Linked DNA regions of Homo sapiens: regions 1, 2 and 4 are each linked to region 3. The links are contacts of gene promoters, found by promoter capture Hi-C in blood cells and fetal thymus (Javierre and others, 2016). All regions are on one chromosome and are shown on one strand. Each heading gives the region's core, a stretch centred on a gene start or on the middle of the fragment in contact. The rest is flanking DNA. Distances are from core to core; before and after follow the strand shown. Region 1 overlaps SYN3 (synapsin III). Region 2 overlaps BPIFC (BPI fold containing family C). Region 3 holds the start of TIMP3 (TIMP metallopeptidase inhibitor 3). Region 4 overlaps FBXO7 (F-box protein 7).

Region 1 (5,427 bases), core at 1,370-3,869, 290 kb after region 3:
GGTGGGCGGATGACTAGGTCAGGAGATCGAGACCATCCTGGCTAACACGGTGAAACCCCATCTCTACTAAAAATATAAAAAATTAGCCGGGCGTGGTAGCGGGCGCCTGTAGTCCCAGCTACTAGGGAGGCTGAGGCAGGAGAATGGCGTGAACCCGGGAGGCGGAGCTTGCAGTGAGCCGAGATCGCACCACTGCACTCCAGCCTGGGCAACAGAGTGAGACTCTGTCTCAAAATAATAATAATAATAATAATAATACTTTCCCCATTGGTCTGTGTATGAACATAGGAACCAAGGACACATAGGTCTCATGGCGACCCTAAAATAGTCTGTTCTGTCACATAGACTAGTACCTGTTCCTTCCAAACATGTAACCTTTAATAATTGTGACATTTTGAAATGGGAAAGGGCAAAAAGGAGGGAGAGGGGAGTCATGCTGTATAGACTCTAAAATGTTATGTTTGTTGTTTTTCTTGCTTTGTTTCACAACTTTGAGCCAGAGAGAGGCTAGCATTTTCCCTCCAAGCTGACTCGGGGAAGCTGAAACACAACAAAGACCTATTTGATTTGTTCACAATGAACAGGGATTTAAAAACGCAGCCTTAGCGGACAGCTCTACCAGCCACAGAAAAGTTCTTCCAGATCTTCCTCCCGTCAGCGCGATAAAATGGTACCGTACTTTGGTTAAATGTAAAATCAGCTTTCCAGGAACAGTGGCATATCCTTTCTCTTCCATCAGTTCCCTAGATTCTCTTCATTACTACATTCTCTAGCCTAACATTCCGTCCCTGCTGAATTAACTAATATTCAGATACATTCAAGATAGAACTAACACTCAATTCTATCTTTCCAAAATTTAAGGGGATGATAGGTCTTCACTCACATGGTAACAAACACAGCAGCAAACCCCATAAAACTGAACATCAACTGCCTTCTGGAAGTTCTCATCTGGCAAGCTAGTGCAGGTATCTTGTGCATGGGTCAAGAGAGTGAAGCTCAGAGCACATTGCTTGGCACCCAGCAGGTGTTCAGGACATGTTTTAGCTCAGCCCTCCTAGAAAACTATGAAATAAAATCCAAACAAAAGTATTAAGATTGAAGTAAAAAGATGTTTTTCTAAGAGTATCAATATATGGAAGTCACTTGCCCAGGAACAGAATCAAACAAACCAAAACCCAGTAAAATGAGATAGAGAAAAGAAGCGGAAGAAGATCAATGGCAGGTTTTCAACCTCAAAAAGACCTCTTCCAAACTGAATCTGAAGAGGAATGGGAGGAGGCAGAATGAGAACATGAGACCTCTCCTTGGGGCCCCTTTCATGCGCGTCTGTGTGAAGAGACCACTAAACAGGCTTTGTGTGAGCAACATGGCTGTTTATTTCACCTGGGTGCAGGCCGGATGAGTCCGAAAAGAGAGTCAGCAAAGGGAGTAGGGATGGGGCCGTTTTATAGGATTTGGGAAGGTAATGGAAAATTACATGCAAAGGGGGTTGTTCTCTGGTGGGCAGGGGCGGGGGTCACAAGGTGCTCAGTGCGGGAGCTTCTGAGCCAGAAGAAGGAAATTTACAGGGTTAATCACTCAGTTAAGGTGGGGCAGGAACAAATCACAATGGTGGAATGTCATCAGTTAAGGCGGGGCAGGGCCTTTTCACTTCTTTTGTGATTCTTCAGTTACTTCAGGCCATCTGGGCGTATACGCGCAAGTCACAGGGGATGCGATGGCTTGGCTTGGGCTCAGAGGCCTGACATTCCTGCCTTCTTATATTAATAAGAAAAATAAAACAAAATAGTGTTGAAGTGTTGGGGCGACGAAAATTTTTGGGGGGTGGTATGGAGAGAGAATGGGCGATGTTTCTCAGGGCTGCTTCGAGTGGGATTAGGGGCGGCGTGGGAACCTAGAGTGGGAGAGATTAAGCTGAAGGGAGGTCTCGTGGTAAGGGGTGATATTGTGGGGATGTTAGAAGAAACATTTGTTGTGTAGAATGATTGGTGACGGCCTGGATATGGTTTTGTATGAATTGAAAAACTAAATGGAATAAGAAGGAGAAAAACAGGTATAAAAGGTCTAAGAATTGGGAGGACCTAGGACATCTGATTAGAGAGTGCCTAAGGAGATTCAGCATAGTCCTGCCAGCAAAGATTATTTATTTACTTCAAGAGTTAAAAGTGGCAGTTTGGGGATAGCACGAGGAGATATCAGCTGTGATGGCTTGGAGAAACAGTGTAAACTGGCAGTGTAAACAAGAGCAGGGCATGTATGAGTAGTTGAGAACGGAGAATAGGAGTATGACTAGACAGAAGATAGTAGGGATGACAAGTTTTTTTTGGGGGCACAGTCTAAGTTGGTCTGGTGTCTGGAATGAGACTGGGGCCTAATAAAAAGGAGCATCTATACAGGAGCTTAAATGGGCTGTACCTTGTAGCATTCTGAGGACAGGCCTGAATTCTGAGAAGCGAAAGTGGTAAAAGTATTGTCCAGTCCTTTTTAAGTTGGTGGCTGAGCTTGGTGAGGTGTGTTTTTAAAAGACCTTTAGTCCGTTCTACTTTTCTTGAAGATAGAGGACCGTAAGGGATATAAAGGTTTCACTGAATACTAAGAGCCTGAAAAACTAATTGGCTGATTTGACTAATAAAGGCTGGTCTGCTATCAGACTGTATAGAGGTGGGAAGGCTAAACTGAGGAATTATGTCTGACAGAAGGGAAGAAATGACTGTGGTGGCCTTCTCAGACCCTGTAGGAAACGCCTTTACTTATTCAGTGAAAGTGTCTATTTAGACTAAGAGGTATTTTAGTTTCCTGACTCGGGCATGTTGAGTAAAGCTAATTTGCCAGTCCTGGGTGGGGGCAAATCCTGGAGCTTGATGTGTAGGGAAGGGAGGGGGCCTGAATAATCCCTGAGGAGTAGTAGAATAGCAGATGAAACACTGAGAAGTTATTTCCTTGAGGATAGATTTCCACGATGGAAAGGAAATGAGAGGTTCTGAGAGGTGGGCTAGTGGCTTGTACTATAGCATAGCCTGGCTTTGCTGGTGTGTGGCGATTAGGCCTGGTGGAACTGCCATCAAAAAATCAAGCGTGATCAGGGTGAGGAACAGGAAAGAAGGAAATATGGGGAAATGGGGTGAGTATCAGGTGGATCAGAGAGATACAGTCATGGGGGTCAGGTGTGGTATCAGGAATAATGTGGGAGGCCAGATTGAAGTCCCGGCCAGGAACAATGGTAATTGTGGGACTTAACAAAGAGTGAGTACAGCTGAAGGAGCCGGGGAGCAGAAAGTATATGCGTCAGGTATGAGGAAGAAAATAGATTTTGGAAGTTATGAGAAATGTAGAGAGTGAGTTGAGCATAGTTTGTGATTTTTAGGGCCTCTAAAAGTATTAAAGCAGCGGCAGCCGCTGCACGCAGACATGAGGGCTAGGCTAAAACAGTAAGGTCAAGTTGTTTGGACAGAAAGGCTGCAGGACGCAGTCCTGGCTCTTGTGTAAGAATTCTGACCGCACTAACCATGCCTAGGAAGGAAAGGAGTTGTTATTTTGTAAGGGATTGAGGTTTGGGAGATTAATCGGACACGATCAGCAGGGAAAGCACGTGTGTTTTTATGAGAATTATGCCGAGATAGGTAACAGATGAGGATGAAATTTGGGCTTGACTGAAGTAATGGGGGCTGTCTATGAAGTCTTGCAGTAGTACAGCCTAGGTAATTTGCTGAGCCTAATGGGTGTCAGGGTCAGTCTAAGTGAAAGCAAAGAGAGGCTGGGACGAGGGGTGCAGGGGAATAGTGAAGAAAGCATCTTTACGATCAAGCACGGAATAGTGAGTTGTGGAGGGAGGTATTGAGGACAAAAGAGTGTACGGGTTGGGCCCCACAGGGGGGATAGGCAAAACAATTTGGTTGATACGGTGCAGATCCTGAACTAACTTGTAAGGCTTGTCTGGTTTTAGGACAGGTAAAATAGGGGAATTGTAAGGAGAGTTTATAGGCTTTAAAAGGCCATGCTGTAGCAGGCGAGTGATAACAGGCTTTAATCCTTTTAAAGCGTGCTGCGGGATGGGATATTGGCGTTGAGTGGGGTAAGGGTGATTAGGTTTTAATGAGATGGTAAGGGGTGCACGATCGGTCGCCAAGGAGGGAGTAGAGGTATCTTATACTTGTGGGCTAAGGTGGGGGGATACAAGAGGAGGACGCAAAGGAGGCTTTGGATTGGGAAGAAGGGCGGCAATGAGATATAGATGTAGTCCAGGAATAGTCAGGGAAGCAGATAATTTAGTTAAAGTGTCTCAGCCTAATAAGGGAACTGGGCAGGTGGGGATAACTAAAAAGGAGTGCTTAAAAGAGTATTGTCTAAGTTGGCACCAGAGTTGGGGAGTTTTAAGAGGTTTAGAAGCCTGGCCGTCAATACCCACAACAGTTATGGAGGCAAGGGAAACAGGCCCTTGAAAAGAAGGTAATGTGGAGTGGGTAGCCTCCGTATTGATTAAGAAGGGGACGGACTTACCCTCCACCGTGAGAGTTACCTAAAGCTCGGCATCCGTGATGGTCTACGGGGCTTCTGAGGCGATCAGGCAGCATCAGTCTTCAGCCGGTAAGTCAAGAAGGAGTCAGTCAGAGAACCTTGAGCCAGAGTTCCAGGGGCTCTGGGAGTGGCTGCCAGGTGAGTTGAACAGTCCGATTTTCAGTGGGGTCCCGCACAGATGGGACGCGGCTTAGGAGGAATCCCGGGCTGCGGGCATTCCTTGGCCCAGTGGCCAGATTTCCGGCGCGTGTAGCAAGCTCCTGGGGGAGGAGGTTCCGGAGGAACGCCTGGTTGCGTTTGGAAGTTCTTGTGTGCTGGAGATGTGACTGGGGATTGTCTCACAGTGGAGGCAAGGAATTGCAACTTTTTTCTGTTATTGCACACCTTGAAGGTGAGGTTAATTAAGTCCTGTTGTGGGGTTTGAGGGCCAGATTCCAATTTTTGGAGTTTTATTTAATGTTGGGAGCAGATTGGGTAATAAAATGTATATTGAGAATAAGACGGCCTTTTGACCTTTTAGGGTCTAGGGCTGTAAAGCGTCTCAGGGTCGCTGCCAAACAAGTCATGAACTGGGCTGGATTTTTATATTTGATGAAAAAGAGCCTAAACGCTATCTGATTTGGGATAAAGAAAAAGGAGCATTAACCTTGACTATGCCTTTAGCTCTCCAGCCACCTTTTTAAGAGTAAATTGCTGGGCAGGTGGGGGAGGGCTAGTCACGGAACGAAACTGTAAGCCGGATCAGGTGTGAGGGGAGGCGATAAAAAGATTATAGGGTGGAGGAGCAGAGGCTGAGGAAGAATTGGGACCTAGCTTGGCCTGGCAAGGAGCAGGCTGGGGAGGAAGGGAGAGGTCAGATGGGTCTGTAGAAAAGGAAGATTAGAAAGACTCAGCGACGCTTGGGGTTGGGAC
Region 2 (5,517 bases), core at 1,470-3,969, 380 kb after region 3:
CTGGCTGCATAGACAGCAAATACAGAAATCAGAGACAAACCCCGTGTTGGTGGTCTAGACAGACTGTAGGATCACAGGCTTTGGAGTCAGACTAGCTGGTCTGGTTCTGATCCCAGTGCTGCCACTAATTAGCTCTGGCATCTCAGGCGAGTTTCTTAACCTCTCTTGGACTCCATTTCCTCCTCTGTAAAATGGTGTAATAAAGACTACTTCAGGAGAAGGTTGTGAGAAGTATGAGAGTTAATACAGGTAAAGTGTGTGGTTGCCATTCAATAGCTCTGTGATCTTGGGTGTAAGTTATTTAATCTCCATAAAGCATAAAACGGGAATAATAGTACCTACCTCCAGGACCATTCATTTAATCTATTGACCATTATTGTGCACTGTTCCAGGCCCTGGAGACACGGAGTTGTAAGGTTTAAATGAAATGACAGAGGCACCGGGCTTGGCACGGGACCTAATAGACGGTAAAGGCCCAATAATAAAGAATAGTCATGAACTGTACCAAAAAAAGACTATTTCTTAGCTGTTGGCTTTGACTATGATTTCAAATTTAGAGATAGCCTCAGCCAGGACAAGGAGGTGCTCAATCGTACAAGATCATTTCCAGAGTCCCCTGATTCAGAATACACTTCGCTCCCCTGTATCCTGCCCATGGATAGCTAAGAAATAGTCCTTTTTTGTATAATTCATGGCTATTGTTTATTATTGGATCTTTGTCATCTACTAGGTCCTGTGCCAAGCCCAACACCTCTATTATTTCATTTTAAATCTTACAACTCTGTGTCTCCAGGGCCTGGCACAGTGCTCAATAAATGTCAGTAGATTAAATGAACGGTCCTAGAGGTAGGTACTATTATCCCCATTTTACAGTTTGTAGAGATTAAATAACTTACTGAAGGTCACAGAGCTATTGAATGGCTGAGCCAGAACTTGAACCTGGGTGAGTCCGCTTTCAAAGCAGTGAGTATTTACTTACCACAGTATACTGCCTTTGATGTAGTGAAGAGCTTTGACTTAGAAAATAAGGCAAGGCCAGGCGTGGTGGCTCACGCCTATAATCTCAGCACTTTGGGAGGCCGAGGCAGGTGAATCATCTGAGGTCAGGAGTTCGAGACCAGCCTGGCCAACATGGTGAAACTCCATCTCTACTAATAATACAAAAATTAGCTGGGCATGGTGGTGCATGCCTGTAATCCCAGCTACTCTGGAGGCTGAGGCAGGAGAATCGCTTGAATGCAGGAAGCGGAGGTTGCAGTGAGCCGAGATCACACCACTGCACTCTAGCCTGGGCGACAAGAGCAAAACTCCGTCTCAAAAAAAAAGGAAGAAGAAGAAGAAGAAGAAGAAGAAGAAGAAGAGGAAGAAGAAGAGGAAGAAGAAGAGGAAGAAGAAGAGGAAGAAGAAGAGGAAGAAGAAGAGGAAGAAGAAGAAGAAGAAGAAGAAGAAGAAGAAGAAGAAGAAGAAGAAGAGAAGAAGAAGAAGAGGAGGAGGAGGAGGAGGAGGAGGAGGAGAAGAAGAAGAAGAAGAAGAAGAAGAAAGAAAATAACACTTAAGATTTAGGAAATAAATACCTTTATACCCTTGCCTGGAAGAGGAAACCCATAAGCATGGAGTCACGCTAAGTTGAAACAGGCAGCATGCCCTTTTTCAATATTCAGCATTGATAAAAGAAAGAGAAAACACTGGAACTGGTTGTGCTGAAATAGAAAAAAACACACAGCACTTTTGTCACCGCATCAAGGAATCAAGGGGAGAAAATGGTGAAGAAAGTAAAAAACTAGCAATTCTAATAATACACTTGAACTCTTTGAGCATGTCTAGTTAAGAGCACAGTCTCTGGAGTCAGGCATATCTGGATTTGAATTCTACCTCTGCCACTTGCTACCTAGTGACCTTAAGCAAGTTACTTAACCTCGTTAAGTATCAGTTTCCTCATTAGCAAAACAGAACACCCCTCCATAGGGTTGTTGTATGGGTGGATGAGATAATGTATGTAAATCACTTAGCACAACAGTCAGCATATAGTCATTGATCCAGAAATATTTGTTCCTAGTAGTACTAGTATTTCATTCTTTTTCCCCATTCTAAGATCAAATTTTGACCAAATAACAGGGAGAAACTGATCCCAAGAGACATGACAAGTCAGGATGGTTTTTAAAGCTGTGGAGTTTTAAACCAGACTCACTGCTCTATTTACAATTGAGAGTTGTTCCAAACATACTTCTCTTTGGAGGCAACCTCAGTACAGTTTGGCCCACATAGTAGACATATTTTAGATTACTTCAGAGGCCAAGTTAAATGACACTTTCCCTTTTTTGGTCTTCATCCAGATCACTTAATTCTAACCCTCTTTTCTTAATCCCATGCAAAGCTCAAGGCAATCAGATGTACGTTACTGTTGAGCCATCTATAACTTAGGAGGTTTTTTTGTTTTTTTTTTGACATTGCATTGATTGAGACTTTGGACACTCCAAATTGAACTCCACCATCAACACACATCCACAACACACACACACACACACACACACACACACCCACACCCTACAACTCCTCCCAAGCAACATAGCGAGAGAATGCAAATATAGCTGACTACAAGCAGATGGAATCACTACCTAACTCTACTCCTCAAGCTTGGGCATATAAACAATTCCCAATGATGGACAAGTCAGTGGAGCTCAGACTTGGCACCTGGGCTGACCCCCCCAACTCCACCCTTCCTCTGAACTACTCTTGAAGCCATGGCAGAAGAATGCCACAGTGGGGTAGCCCCTGCCAGAGGAGGAAACCCCAAATGGAAGCTTCTTCCAGAATTTCCAGGCTGCAGGAAACAATGAAATTCAAACATTGGATAACTCTTACTCATCAAAAGGGTCCTTTAATAGTGGAATGGGTTCAACACATTCTTCCCTTTAAAACTTTTCATCATTGGATTAAATCCACCGTCTGAGGTTTTCAAGCTCTTCATCCACTGGTCCTACTTCTCAAGCCGGCCAACCTTATCTTCCTAAGCTCACTAAAATGAACATTCTGCTTTAGACTGGCTCACCTTCAAAGTGACCCCAATTCCAACAAACACTCCCCAACCCATGTCCTTCATCCGCTCATTTATCCACACATCCATTCAGTAAGAATTTACTGAGAACCTATTATGTGCTTTGCACTGTTTTTAACACAGAAGGACAATGGTTTCTATTTTCCCAGTCCACAGCCTGGTGGGAGAAACAGTACTGGGTGCCAAGGACATGCTAGAGATGTGTACAGAGTCTTCTCTCAAAGGGAAACTTGTTTTCCCCCCATGATATGCCCCATATCACATACACATGCATGCTCACACACACACATACACACACACAACTCTAGCCTACGCTGGTTTCTTCATCTTTTCGCACTCTCTTTTTTTTTTCAAAACGTAGTCTTGCTCTGTCGCCCAGACTGAAATGCAGCGGTATGATCTTGGCTCACTGCAACCCCTGCCTCCCAGTTTTAAGCAATTCTCCTGCCTCTGCCTCCCGAGTAGCTGGGGATTACTGGCACGTGCCACCATGCCTGGCTAATTTTTGTAATTTTAGTAGAGATGGGGTTTTGCTATGTTGGCCAGGCTGGTCTCGAACTCCTGACTTCAGGTGATCCACCCGTCTCAGCCTCCCAAAGTGCTGGGATTACAGGTGTGAGCCACCGCGCCCAGCTTCACACCCTTTTTAGAGTCTCTGCAGCAAGTCTGTATGGTGTGTAAACCCATGAAGAAGCACCTGAGTATACCTTGCTTTGTGTTGTTCTCTACCTTCTACAAACGACTTCTCTCCATCCCTCATAATTATAGGTAGAGGTTAAATTCTTCACATTGCCTCGCACATTCCTGAGCACAGAATGAGCACCTGGGTAACCTGTTGGCCTGCTGTTCTTTTCTCCATGCTGCAGCCAGAGTGATCTTTATAAAACACAGACATCATCTCCTTTCTTAAAAAACCTTCATTGGATTTCTTGCTCTGAGGATAAAAAATGAAAATCGTAACACAGCCAGAGGCACTGAGCCTAGTCAATCCTGTCTGCCTCTCGCATCGCCCTGCTGTGCTCTCCCAGCTCTCAGTTCCCTCCGTGGGGCTTTTGCAACCCCTGCCTGGAACCCTCCCCACTCCGTTCCCCATTCTGCCTTTTGAATCTTATTCATCCTTCATATTTCAGCTCAAGCAGCCCTCCCCTGGAAACCTTCCTACATCTACCAAATGAAATCAAGTTCCTCTTTGTATTTTGACTCCACGAAATTGTTTCTTTCCTTAAGAGCATTTATCTCAATTGTAATTAAACCTTAATTAGTGGGATGATTTGATTAATGATTGCCACCCCACTAGGTGGTAAGCTACATGAGAACAGTGGTTGTGTCTAGTTTTGCTCACAAGGCTGCTATCTCTAGCACCTGTCCCAGTGCTGACACATAATAAATATTTGCTGGATGACCCAATCAATGAATAAGTGAACATTAAGTACCTCTGTACTCAATCCTAGGAATACAAGAATTTTGATCAGGAGAGTATCTCTATCAGACATGCCTGTAACGTAGCTTCCCCTGGGGATGGTGTAGAAGATGGATTGGAAAGGGTCAATAGTGGAAACAGGGAGATTTGTTAGAAGGCTGATGCAGAAGTAGGGCTCTAGACCTGGGCAAAAGTGAGCCATAGAAAGCTAAGAGGAAAAGCAAGATACGAAAAAGAGAGCTCTGGGATGGGCATCAGGAGATCTGAGTCCCAGTAACAAATCTGCCGTTAATATTTCTCCTCTTTGACCTTCAGTTTCTCCCTCTGCAAAATGAAGGAGTCTTCTCTATTCATTACTATTTCTTCATAGTATCATTATTATTGCATAGAAAAATCAACTGTGTATATTGGGAGGACTACTTATGGATCAGCTCTTGGCAAAATTGGGAAACAGACAACGTTGACCTTGAGTTTTCTTATGAAAATTCCCATAAAATATCAAGCAACAGGACACGCTGTCACTCAGCCTTACCAAGCTGGGAGAGGGGTCAGGGAGGAGGACTCCCTTCTACTTGGACCTACAGCAAGTGCTCTGTTGATATTTGAAAAAGAACATCAAGGACATTATGTGCTGTTATAACTGTTAGCATTTCTCTTCCTAATAAAAATGGCTCATATTCAGAGTGATAAGGATATGCTAGGCACAGTTCTAAGCATTTTATGTGCATCATTTCATTCAATTTTCACTACAGCCCTGCGAGGCAGGTATTGTTCTTTTTTAATTGTATTGTTTAATGGACATATCGTAATTTTACATTCATGGAGTACCTAGTGATGTTTCAATGTGTATCAATGTATAGTGATCAGATCAAGGCAATTAGCGTGTCTATTATCTCAAACATTTGTCATTTATTTGTGTTGAGGCTGTTCTATCTTCCCTCTAGCTATTTGAAACTACACAATATATTATTGTTAACTATAGTCATTTCACATATTCTTATTCATATTTCATAGTTGAGAAAATTAAGATCCAGAGAGATTA
Region 3 (4,994 bases), core at 665-3,164:
GGAGGAAAACCCTCCCCAGTCTTCAGGCTGCCCAAAAGGATCTTTCTAAGCAATCCACAAATCCTGGGCCAGCTGGGTTCCCCCAGGAGAGGGGAGGATGTACCATGCAGGCCCCAGGGAGCCTCTTACAAGGGTGACCTCAGGTCACACAAACACCCTCAGCTGCCAACTGCACTGACATTCTGGTCACCACACCCCCACTCTGACCTCTAGGCTCAGCCCAGCCCACCAGCAGTGCCCCTCCCGGCCCTCACTGCCTCCCCTGCCAAGCTCCTACCTCCTCCCCCTCCTCACCACAACACGCTGGTAGAGTCCCTCACCCAAGACTCAGTGGAAAATTTCCTTCTCCTTTATGACTGTACTTAAAACACACACGCTCCATTCTTCACCTCTGAATCGACACAGGCAGAGGGCGGCAAGGCTGTCCCACCCCACCGCCCAGCCCAGCCCAGTGCACACACACACACTCTCCCAGCAGAGCCACTGGACTTGCACGCTTTATGGGCTGGAAAGGAGGAGAGAGATGTTTCCCAGATGCCACTCCACCTTTAGCCATCCAAACACAAGTGTCCCAAACACTCCCAGACAAGCCTCCCAGGATGCTCTCGGGGCCCTCCATACACACTAAGGAGTAGGAGGTCTCTTTACAGGGTCTCTCTACTCAAGACACTAAGTCCAGTCTGGAACTGTCACCGTGATGTGACCCTTGGCAGGTTTGTTCTTTTGGTGACAAATCTGTTTTCCACTACCCATTCTCCCCCTCCCCACACACATTCAAGGGGGAAAAAAATAGCCTTCCTGTGAATTTTCACAGCTATGTGGTGAGTGACCCCTCGCACCTTCTGCTGGCTATCAACACTCTCAAACACAGTGCCTCCAGGGCGTGGGTCAATGCCACAGCTTTCTCCTCATTTTCCCCCTTAAATCCACCCAAACTTGGCAGTCCCAGAAGCTCGGTTAGCGCTTGCCTGGGAAGCCTGCAGCTGGGTTGGGTCTCAGTGAAAAGAATGAATTTCATAGGCGCAGGAGATGATGCAGACTCGGAGTACTCCAAGTTTCTCCTGCAACTTTCCGTGCACATGGCGGGCAACTTTTTTTTTTTTTTTTAACTATTCAATTTCCCAGCACTTTAGTTAGCATTCCAAGTTTTGGGAACCCTTTCCCCACCCTTCTCTTCTAGCCCTTCCTCCGTTAGTAGTGAATGGGGACATTTTCCAGATGTCAAAAGGACCGGTAGGAACCTCACGACCTAAGTTAGGAAAGCAAAGGCGGCCAGGGGCTCCCTCAGCCACTGTGAGTTTCCTCTGCAGGGCATCTTCCCCTCTCAGCTATGCCAGCGCCCCCGCCCAAGGACATCGAGTTTCTCCACTCCGCCCCAACCCCGTCTGCCCCTCTCCTGGGGCAGAGGAAAGGAGTGGGGCTCGCCCTGCCTCCCTAAGCAGCGCTGCAGTCCTGGCTGCAGCGTGGGGCTCGGGCGGGGCACCAGGAGCGCTTACCGATGTCGGAGTTGCAGAAGGCGTCCTGGGGGTGGCTGGGCGAGCATGTGCACGCCTCGGCGCCCCAGTCCCCCAGGCTCCAGCTGCCCAGGAGCACGATGAGCCCGAGCCAAGGGGTCATTGCCGCTGCTGCCGCCGCTGCCGGGGCTGCTGCTCGCCTCTCCAAAGTTGCCGTGCGCGCCGCCGGCGGGGCTGCTGCAGCCCGAGCTCGCTCGCCCGCCGGGCCGTGCGGGGCAACCTTGGCCTCCGGCGCGCTGCCCTCCGAGTGCCCGGCGGGACGGGATGGGGCGCAGCGAGGCTGCCTCGGCGCTGGCGCAGGACTCGGCGGGCGGCCTCCCGGCGAAGGAGCAGGAGCTGGAGGAGCAAGAGGAGGAGGAGAAGCCGTCTGAGCGCCCGCCGCCTGCCTGCTGCCCGCTCTGCGCCGCTGCCTGGGCGGCCGAGTGATATAGCGCTGGGCCCCCGGGGACCCCGCCTCGGGCTGTTGGGGCCCGCCCCCTCAGACCAATGGCAGAGCCGCATTACCTCATCGGCCCTCCAAAAAGGGGGCGGGGCCGGGGGCAAGGGGTAACGGGGCGGGGCCGCCCCCGGATCGTTCAGATCCTTATAGGGAATAATGCCGCCGTGGGCACGCGAGTGGGTGGGCTGGGGCGCGCCCGGGACCGGTGCTTGCCGCTGGGTCCTCGGAGCGGAGCCCTCGTGCCCCTTCTCGTCTGCGCCCTGGCCCCACGCCCACCTGGGCCACTGGGTGTCTCTGACCCAAACCAGAACCAACTAACACCCACCCACCCCAGCAGGACCGCTTCCACAGGTGAGGGGTGGCCATGTCCTAGAGACCTTGACTGTGCTTGGTGGAACCAGCGGGGGAATGCTAACTGCTACCCCTCCAGTTTCTCTGGAGAGAGCAGGCACAGAGGAGAAAGACCCAAACTCTCTCTCTTTCTCTCTCTCTCTGGTTCTTACTCTCTGGGATATGGGAAGCCATCTGCTGTTTGCAGCTGGCTATGATATATGATAGAAGACTGTTTTCTGTGCTCTCCCAGAGCAAACGGGGTTCTGTATTCATTCAACAAACACGGTTCAGGATGCTGGGTTAAGCAACACAAAGCCCTTGCCCCCGTGGACATCCATGAATGCACAGGGTGATTTTCTGTGATGCTAGGGCTATGAAGAAAACAAAACAGAGTTCTGGGTTGGACATGACTGGGGAGGGCCTGCTCTCTCTGCGATAGTAAGGGAAGGGCTCCCTGAAGTGCCATCCTCGCTGAGAAGTGGACAAAGACAAGGATCAGCTCTGGGGCAAGCCACAGGAGAGAGGTACCAGGCAGGGGGAACAGCAAGTGCAAAGACCCTGGGCATGTTTGAAAGACAGAAAGTAGAAAGGCAAGAGGAAGTGGTTCCCTGCCCATGGCTGACAGAGCTCCACCCTTCAGCAAGGGATTTGGGGGTGAGCTGATCCAAAACTGTAGTAAAACCAGGAGAACGATCCAGGATCCTAGACGACTAGCTATAATAGATGATTGCAGATAACTAACACAATTACTATCCTTATTATTGACATCTTGATTCTGCTTTGTATTTTTAAAAGCAGGATTCTGTATCTCACCGTATTATAGCTCTCACAATAATCTTTGTGGGTAGGAAAAGCAAGCACAAGTATCACTCCCACTTTCCAGATGAGGAACCGGCACAGAAAGATGGGATGATTGGTGGCCAGCCAGGAACTCGTCACCCCTTTCCACTGCTCCTTCCCATCTGAAGAGAGACATGCATTTCCCTGAACGTCAGCAGCTGTTCCATCTAACTGCAAATGGCCATTTGCAGCTGGGATCTTCCATCTTTCTACACTTTTGTCTCTTTCCCTTTCTCTTCCGCTTCATCCTGTTAGAAATGCCACAAGTTTGGAACAAATAGAAACAGGGAGAAATGCAAGTTCAGCTTCTTTCTCAGAACTCCTCTGTTTACATCTCAGACAAGTGACATTGGGACAGCAGAGGCCGAAGAATTCGTGAGAGATGGTATTTCCAAGAACATTTTTGAAACTCCTTTTTCCCCTTTGAGCACTTTAGCCATAGGAAAGGGAAACCAGTTTCCACATCTTTTTGACTTGTCCCCTCCACCCAGCTTTAAAAACCTTCCCTGCCTTCACTCTAACTGTGGCCTAACTCGTAGAGATGTTTCTGTCTCTCGATGTTTTTCTAGCACTGTTTTCATTGTTTTATGGGGTATGATTCTATTGCTTCCCCAACCACAGTAGGAATACTTTGAGGCCTGGGATATTTAGCCACACTGCTTTTTAGCCCTCTCAGAACCAAATAGGGTCTCAGGAGACTGGAGAGCATGGGTGTGGCCAACAGCTGACTGAGTCCTGAGCAGAGTGCCCTGGAGGCCACTCTAAGGATCCAGGTTGAATGAGGGCATACGTGGTGGAATTTGAGAGATTCGCTTATCCCCGCGCCCCACATGACTTATTCCACAGTCATGTGGAAGGTTTTAGAAGACTTTCCAGACCAAATCCACTTTGGATAAGCATCTTACATGATAGAGGCCCTCTCTTCCCTTTCTTTTCACATTTCAGTTTTGTCCAAAGTGCCGATATTTTCTCCAACGGAAGGCCTTGCCTGGAATATAAGTATCAAGTAGATAACTTCTGCTGAACTTCAAGCAGCAGTTTTCTCATAGAAAGCATCTGAAGCGTTTTTTTCCAGCAGCTACTTAATTATGAAAGCACAAGTATAATCTGATCTTTTTTCCAGCTGAAAAGTAACGAAATTACCTTTTGGTTAATTTCTTCTCACTCCCTATCCTAAGCTGGTCCACACAGTGTCTTGAAGTTCAGCGAATTCCAAGAGCTTTTCAGTTGGGATGTTCTCTCTTATTCCAAACCTGAGTCAGTTCCCCTCTGCCCACCGTGTGAAGGCAGTTTGGTTCTCACCCTAAGGAAAAGAAACAGCAAACTCCATGAATCCTTGCGTAGGGGAGTCCTCCTGCTAGGGTCACCCCCTTCAGCAGGCACCCATCAGTCTGGATGTCATGGTGTCCATGAGCCTAATAATATGTAAGAATTGGTTATTCAACATCACTTAATAAGCTAGGTGGGGTGAACCTGAGGCTAACAGTAAGAATGAAGATGCAGGCTGGGTGCGGTGGCTCACGCCTGTAATCCCAGCACTTTGAGAGGCCAAGGTGGGCGGATCACGAGGTCAGGAGATCGAGACCATCCTGGCTAACATGGTGAAACCCCGTCTGTACTAACAACACAAAAAATTAGCCAGGTGTGGTGGTGGGCGCCTGTAGTCCCAGTTACTTGGGAGGCTGAGGCAGGAGAATGGCGTGAACCTGGGAGGCGGAGCTTGCAGTGAGCTGAGATCATGCCACTGCACTCTAGCCTAGGTGATGGAGTGAGACTCCGTCTCCAAAAAAAAAAAAAAAAAAAAAAAGAATGAAGATGCAGGCTCTCCTGCTTTCTCTTGACAGCTAAGAACAATGATAGAGTTATAC
Region 4 (4,917 bases), core at 175-2,674, 310 kb after region 3:
AAAATATTTGTGATACTATTCTCCACTAGCAAAAATAATCAAAATCCAACAGACATATCTACATGTTTTTCAATTGGCATTACTCCCTTTCCCTTATCACCAACTACAGAGAAGACTACTGTAATAATAGACATGCCACCATTCAACTTGACACCAAAAACGTTTTACTTATTTCTCTACATATAGAGAGCAAATAAAAGCCACTATCTATTCATATAAGTCAAACTACCTACTAGTTGGAGAATTGTGGTAGATTGTATTATGGTTCTCAATCACTTCCTACGCATAATTATACTTCCCCATCCCACCACCATCAGGCTTGGCCATTTTTGTCTTATTTTTTCTGACAAAACGTGAGTGGAAGTGACATATATAATTTCTGGGCAAAAGCGTTGAACCAACACATAATTGGGCCACTGGCACTCCTTTCCTTCTACTACAAGAGGAGCATGTCCTGGATAAAGACAACTCCTTCAGCCAAAGCAAACCCACACACAACATGTACACGAGTGAGAAGTAAATTTCACTGTAAGACACTGAGATTTTAATTTTTTTAACTGCAAAAAAATGAGAAGCTAATATAAGGATCTCGAGTGAATTATAAACCTTATTGAATTATGATTTCATCATCTATAAAATAAGTACCACATAATTTACTTCGAAGTCATTAGCAGTAAATAAGAATGCATGTGAAATATCCAACTAAGTGCCTGCAAAGAGCCTCCAATAAATGGTTTAAAAAAAAAAACTTAGATCCAATTACAGACCATGTATTATTTATATATGTCTATATAGACATATATATCTAAATATATGTCTATATAGACATATATATCTAAATATATGTCTATATAGACATATATATATGTATCTACACAGAGAGAAAGAGCATCTATTATGTACCTGACCTCATGCTAGACCACAAGAATACAAAAGTAAGATATATTCCCTACCTTCAAGGTATTCCCAACCTTAGGTGGAAAGAAATCATATCAACAATTATAGTCCATGGAAAAGAGACTACAATAAAAATATGTACAAAATGGCATGGAGATACAAAGATAAAGTAAATAGCACTTAAGGAATATTAAGCTTAGTCTTAGAAGAGGAACATTTCGCCAGGAGCAGAAAAGAGGGCAGTCAGATGTCATACTCACCAAGAATATTAAGTATACTTACTATTCTTTACAGTCATTTAAATTGTGACAGTATTTCATCTCTTACCTTGTCGGGTAAAAGCCAGAAGAGGATACACCAGCTGGTCTTTAAAGAGGCGAGAGAGTTTCTGAAGATCTTTGTATATGTTGGCTACATTTTCCCCTAGAATATTTTTTAAAGTAAAATCAAAACCCAAAATCAAGTGAAAAAACTGTCCTCTATTTCTGCCAAACCCAATCAACATGGTGAATAAATATTCACAAATAATTCACAAAGATAAGCATGAACCAAATTCCCTCATGGAAGAAGTACAGTGCAAGACTTGATGAAACTGAATCTTAGATATAAAAGCTAAAAATTCCATGATATCAAATTAGTAGAGCTGTGCCCAACCTCTCTAGCTCATAGGCTGCAGTTGTAGAAAAGACTTGTGAGAGATTCATACATACGAAGATTTCCTGATAGCTATCAATCTGTTCTGGGCACTAAGGATACAGTGGAGAACTGCTCCTGTTAACGCTTAGAACCTGGTAAATTAATAGCATTTATCGCATGATGACTATGTATCAGCACCTGTGTCAAGCGTTTTTCAAGCTTTCACATCAGAAGTTCTTTCCTAATTACTATCTCCATTTTAAAAACAGGTCAAGGTACAGAAAGCCTGTCCAAGGCCCCATGGTTAGTGGCAGAACAGTGCACAAACCCAAGTCCGTGTGGCTCAAAAGCACTCATTTTTAGTCACCACACTGCTACTCAACATGTGGGCGACAGATCACCAGAACTGACAATACCTGGAACTGTTTAGAACTACTGAATCTCAGGCCCCCACAGACCTACCAAATCAGAACCTATATTTTAATAAGATCCCCAGGTGACTCATAGTAAAGTACGGACGCACTAGCAAACTGCAGCCGAGGTTCCCACTTGTTTTGCTATTTACCAAGTGTATAGCCTTGGACAAATAACCTGCCCCTCTGATCCTCACCTTTTTGCTCAACTGTTTAAAGGAGACACCACCACTACACCAGATAAGCGTTGTTATAATTGAAAGCTCCACGAGCAGTGCCTAGGGTATCAGTAGGCAATTTATGCTTGCTCCTTCCCCATTTCATATTTATGTATTTCACTATCTATAACAAATAAAACACTCAGTATAACAGGATCGATAAGAAGAAGGAAAGAGATATGCAGCTAATGTCTAAATCTTTGTTGTGTGACTTGCAATCTTGAGTTGAAATTTGCTGTCAAGATATCATTCTTTAAAATCAATTTGGCTCAAGGGCTTTTTTCAAATGTGAAAATTGATTTTCTTTAAATGAATGTTTTCCTTCAGCAACCTGGTATGTAACTATTTAATTAGGAACTTATAAATAAAAGGATAAATAACAGTGCCTAGTTATAGTTACTAGGTGCTATGAACCACAGTAAAAATTCATTAAAATGACTTGCCAAATGAGCAGCATATTCCTACTCAACATAAGACTTTATTAAAAATACTTCATTATAACAGTCCATAAACTTGTAATTTAACAGTATTTAATGTTCCTCCTCCCTTCCATTTCATTTTTCTTTATTTAAGAGAAACCAGATAAAGAATAACAATCTGAGCTACATTCCTGTAAAAGTTGTTTTAAAAGGCTGGGAGTCAGCCAAATCTATTCCTATCCTGTATTTCACCATTTATTGGCTCTGTGACCCTTAAGTAAGTGAGCCTCCTCTAGATCTGTTTCCTGATCTATAAAATGGGCATAAAACCTCTACTGCTGTAAAGTGTAGAGTGTTTCTACTCCCCATAACAAGGTCCTCCCTATACGGTGATAAATATGGAGTGTCGTAGCCAAGGAATTTCAAGTTTTTCTGATCCTCATGATAAAAGCCATCTATACCAATTCATCAGTCCAGTTTATGCATTTCCAACAGGGGCAAAAACTGGTCCTTGACGGGTTAAAAAGAAAAACTATTATATTGGTTTGTGATCCTTCAAAGGGTCACAGTACATAAATAAAACATACTATATTTGTGGTATGAAATTTCATGAAGGAGAGAGATTGAGGGGAAAATCTCCAACGGCTCCTTTGGGAAGTGAGAATAAAAAGATTGAGAAACTCTGGCCTAGTCTGACATTAAATGTTCAACTCGGTCGGGCGCAGTGGCTCATGCCTGTAATCCCAGCACTTTGGGAGGCCGAGGCGGGCAGATCACAAGGTCAGGAGTTCGAGACCAGCCTGGCCAATATGGTGATACCCTGTCTCTACTAAAAATAAAAAAAAATTGGCTGGGCGTGGTGGTGTGCGCCTGTAGTCCATCTACTCAGGAGGCTGAGGCAGAAGAATTGCTTGAACCCAGGAGGTGGAAGTTGAAGTGAGCCGAGATAGCGCCACGGCACTCCAGCCTGGCGAAAGAGCAAGACTCCGTCTCAAAAAAAAAATTCAATTCAGCTAATTCCCAATTTCTGACTCTACATCCAATCAGAGACCGTTATAAATATGTATTCTGCTATCTCCTTTTCCTGTCAGTTTTAGTTAGTATAAGTCAATCTCTCAGGGCTGATCTCCCCTAGGAATGAACAAGAATAAGCCTTTAGGCCTTCAAAGCAACAATGTCAATCTAGCCAGCCTTTCCTAAAGGACTGCTATAAATGCCATCTTCCCATTGTACCACAACATTCCCACTAGGCTCTTAAAACCCTCCTAAGTTTACTAAGAAGATTAAATGGAATAACATATGTACAGGCACAAGTACAGAATGAAACAGGCACTTAAAAAATGTCAGTTCCCCTCTCCACCTTATCTCTTCTGCTCCAACCACCTATAACTGCCTCTCACAGTTTGGTTTAACTGAAAAATGATAAAAGGGAAAACCTGTCTTCTTTGTATCTATTAATAATTTTATAGAGTTTAAGCAAAACCTTACCTAGAATGCAAACCTTTGGTAAAGTATCAATCTGTATAAAATAGCCATCAAATTTATATAGGTTTAAACAAACATTTTGATTGTAGTTTTTCCTCCAATAATCTTCAATAATGAACTTGACATTGAATTACTTTCATGAAACACAGATCCCCTCCATATTGGTTAAATACCAATATGGAGATCTCAATAGGGAGATCTCCAAAGATTAGTACAGAAACTATGAACTATCATCAGAGTGTAATAAATTACATACTAGTGTTATCTCATAACAATATAATTCAGCACACTATGACCCTAAGAAAAACAGGAAAGAAACAAACTCCTCAAATTATAAGCAAAACTTTCACATTTTTTAAACCTTTGCATTCTTAAACAAACCACATTGTCTTCAATATGCTTTAATCTCATATAGAAATTTTCAGTCTTTTGAACATTATCTTTCAGATTTTTTTCTTATATGAATTTCACAGAGTTTCACCCCAAAAGTTAAATAATGTTTGTATTACCTAGTTTCTCTTTGCAAATAAAAGATTCTGGTAGCAGCTGCAATCTTTTCACACTTCTAATCTCATTGTTGATTTTTAGTGTAGCTGTAAATAAACAAAAGAAAGATGATAAAGAATTCTGTCACTTCATCAACTGCCTTTCTTTTTTAGTATGGGCTTGCATTTCCTAGCTCCTAATATACTAAGGACACATTATACAAAACAAACTGTTCTTCGCCTATTTCTTTCTCTGATAGCAAGTTCAAAAGTGTAAACCTGGCATCACATGAAGTAAAATCACTCTACAACACCACCTTTAAAAACTACAGTAAGCATCTTTATATAAAATCCACTAGGCAGC

Evidence for each region. Contacts are between HindIII fragments. The CHiCAGO score rates a contact against its expected background, and 5 or more counts as called.
Region 1: a contact is called between a fragment that was not itself captured here and the fragment with the promoter of TIMP3 in region 3, in 1 of 17 cell types (M1 macrophages). The highest score is 5.4, in M1 macrophages.
Region 2: a contact is called between a fragment that was not itself captured here and the fragment with the promoter of TIMP3 in region 3, in 1 of 17 cell types (M1 macrophages). The highest score is 5.7, in M1 macrophages.
Region 4: a contact is called between a fragment that was not itself captured here and the fragment with the promoter of TIMP3 in region 3, in 5 of 17 cell types (megakaryocytes, erythroblasts, M1 macrophages and 2 more). The highest score is 10.7, in megakaryocytes.

What each region holds. Positions count from the first base shown.
Region 1 is chr22:32,504,391-32,509,817 of GRCh38, reverse strand. It overlaps SYN3 (synapsin III), which reads left to right. Exons shown (of 14, transcript NM_003490.4): 14 at 1-1,998. Among named protein-coding and RNA genes, the nearest start is that of FBXO7, 32 kb to the right of the region's middle. The HindIII fragment of the contact is 6,268 bases long and covers 1-5,427 here.
Region 2 is chr22:32,420,598-32,426,114 of GRCh38, reverse strand. All of the region lies in intron 13 of BPIFC (BPI fold containing family C), which reads left to right. Among named protein-coding and RNA genes, the nearest start is that of RTCB, 11 kb to the right of the region's middle. The HindIII fragment of the contact is 168 bases long and covers 2,636-2,803 here.
Region 3 is chr22:32,798,625-32,803,618 of GRCh38, reverse strand. It overlaps TIMP3 (TIMP metallopeptidase inhibitor 3), which reads right to left and starts at 1,914. Exons shown (of 5, transcript NM_000362.5): 1 at 1,497-1,914. The coding sequence starts at 1,617. All of the region lies in intron 6 of SYN3 (synapsin III), which reads left to right. The HindIII fragment of the contact is 16,798 bases long and covers 1-4,994 here.
Region 4 is chr22:32,487,489-32,492,405 of GRCh38, reverse strand. FBXO7 (F-box protein 7) reads right to left here. Exons shown (of 9, transcript NM_012179.4): 5 at 4,578-4,661; 6 at 1,225-1,320. Among named protein-coding and RNA genes, the nearest start is that of FBXO7, 15 kb to the right of the region's middle. RefSeq lists an enhancer at 3,431-3,600. The HindIII fragment of the contact is 660 bases long and covers 1,095-1,754 here.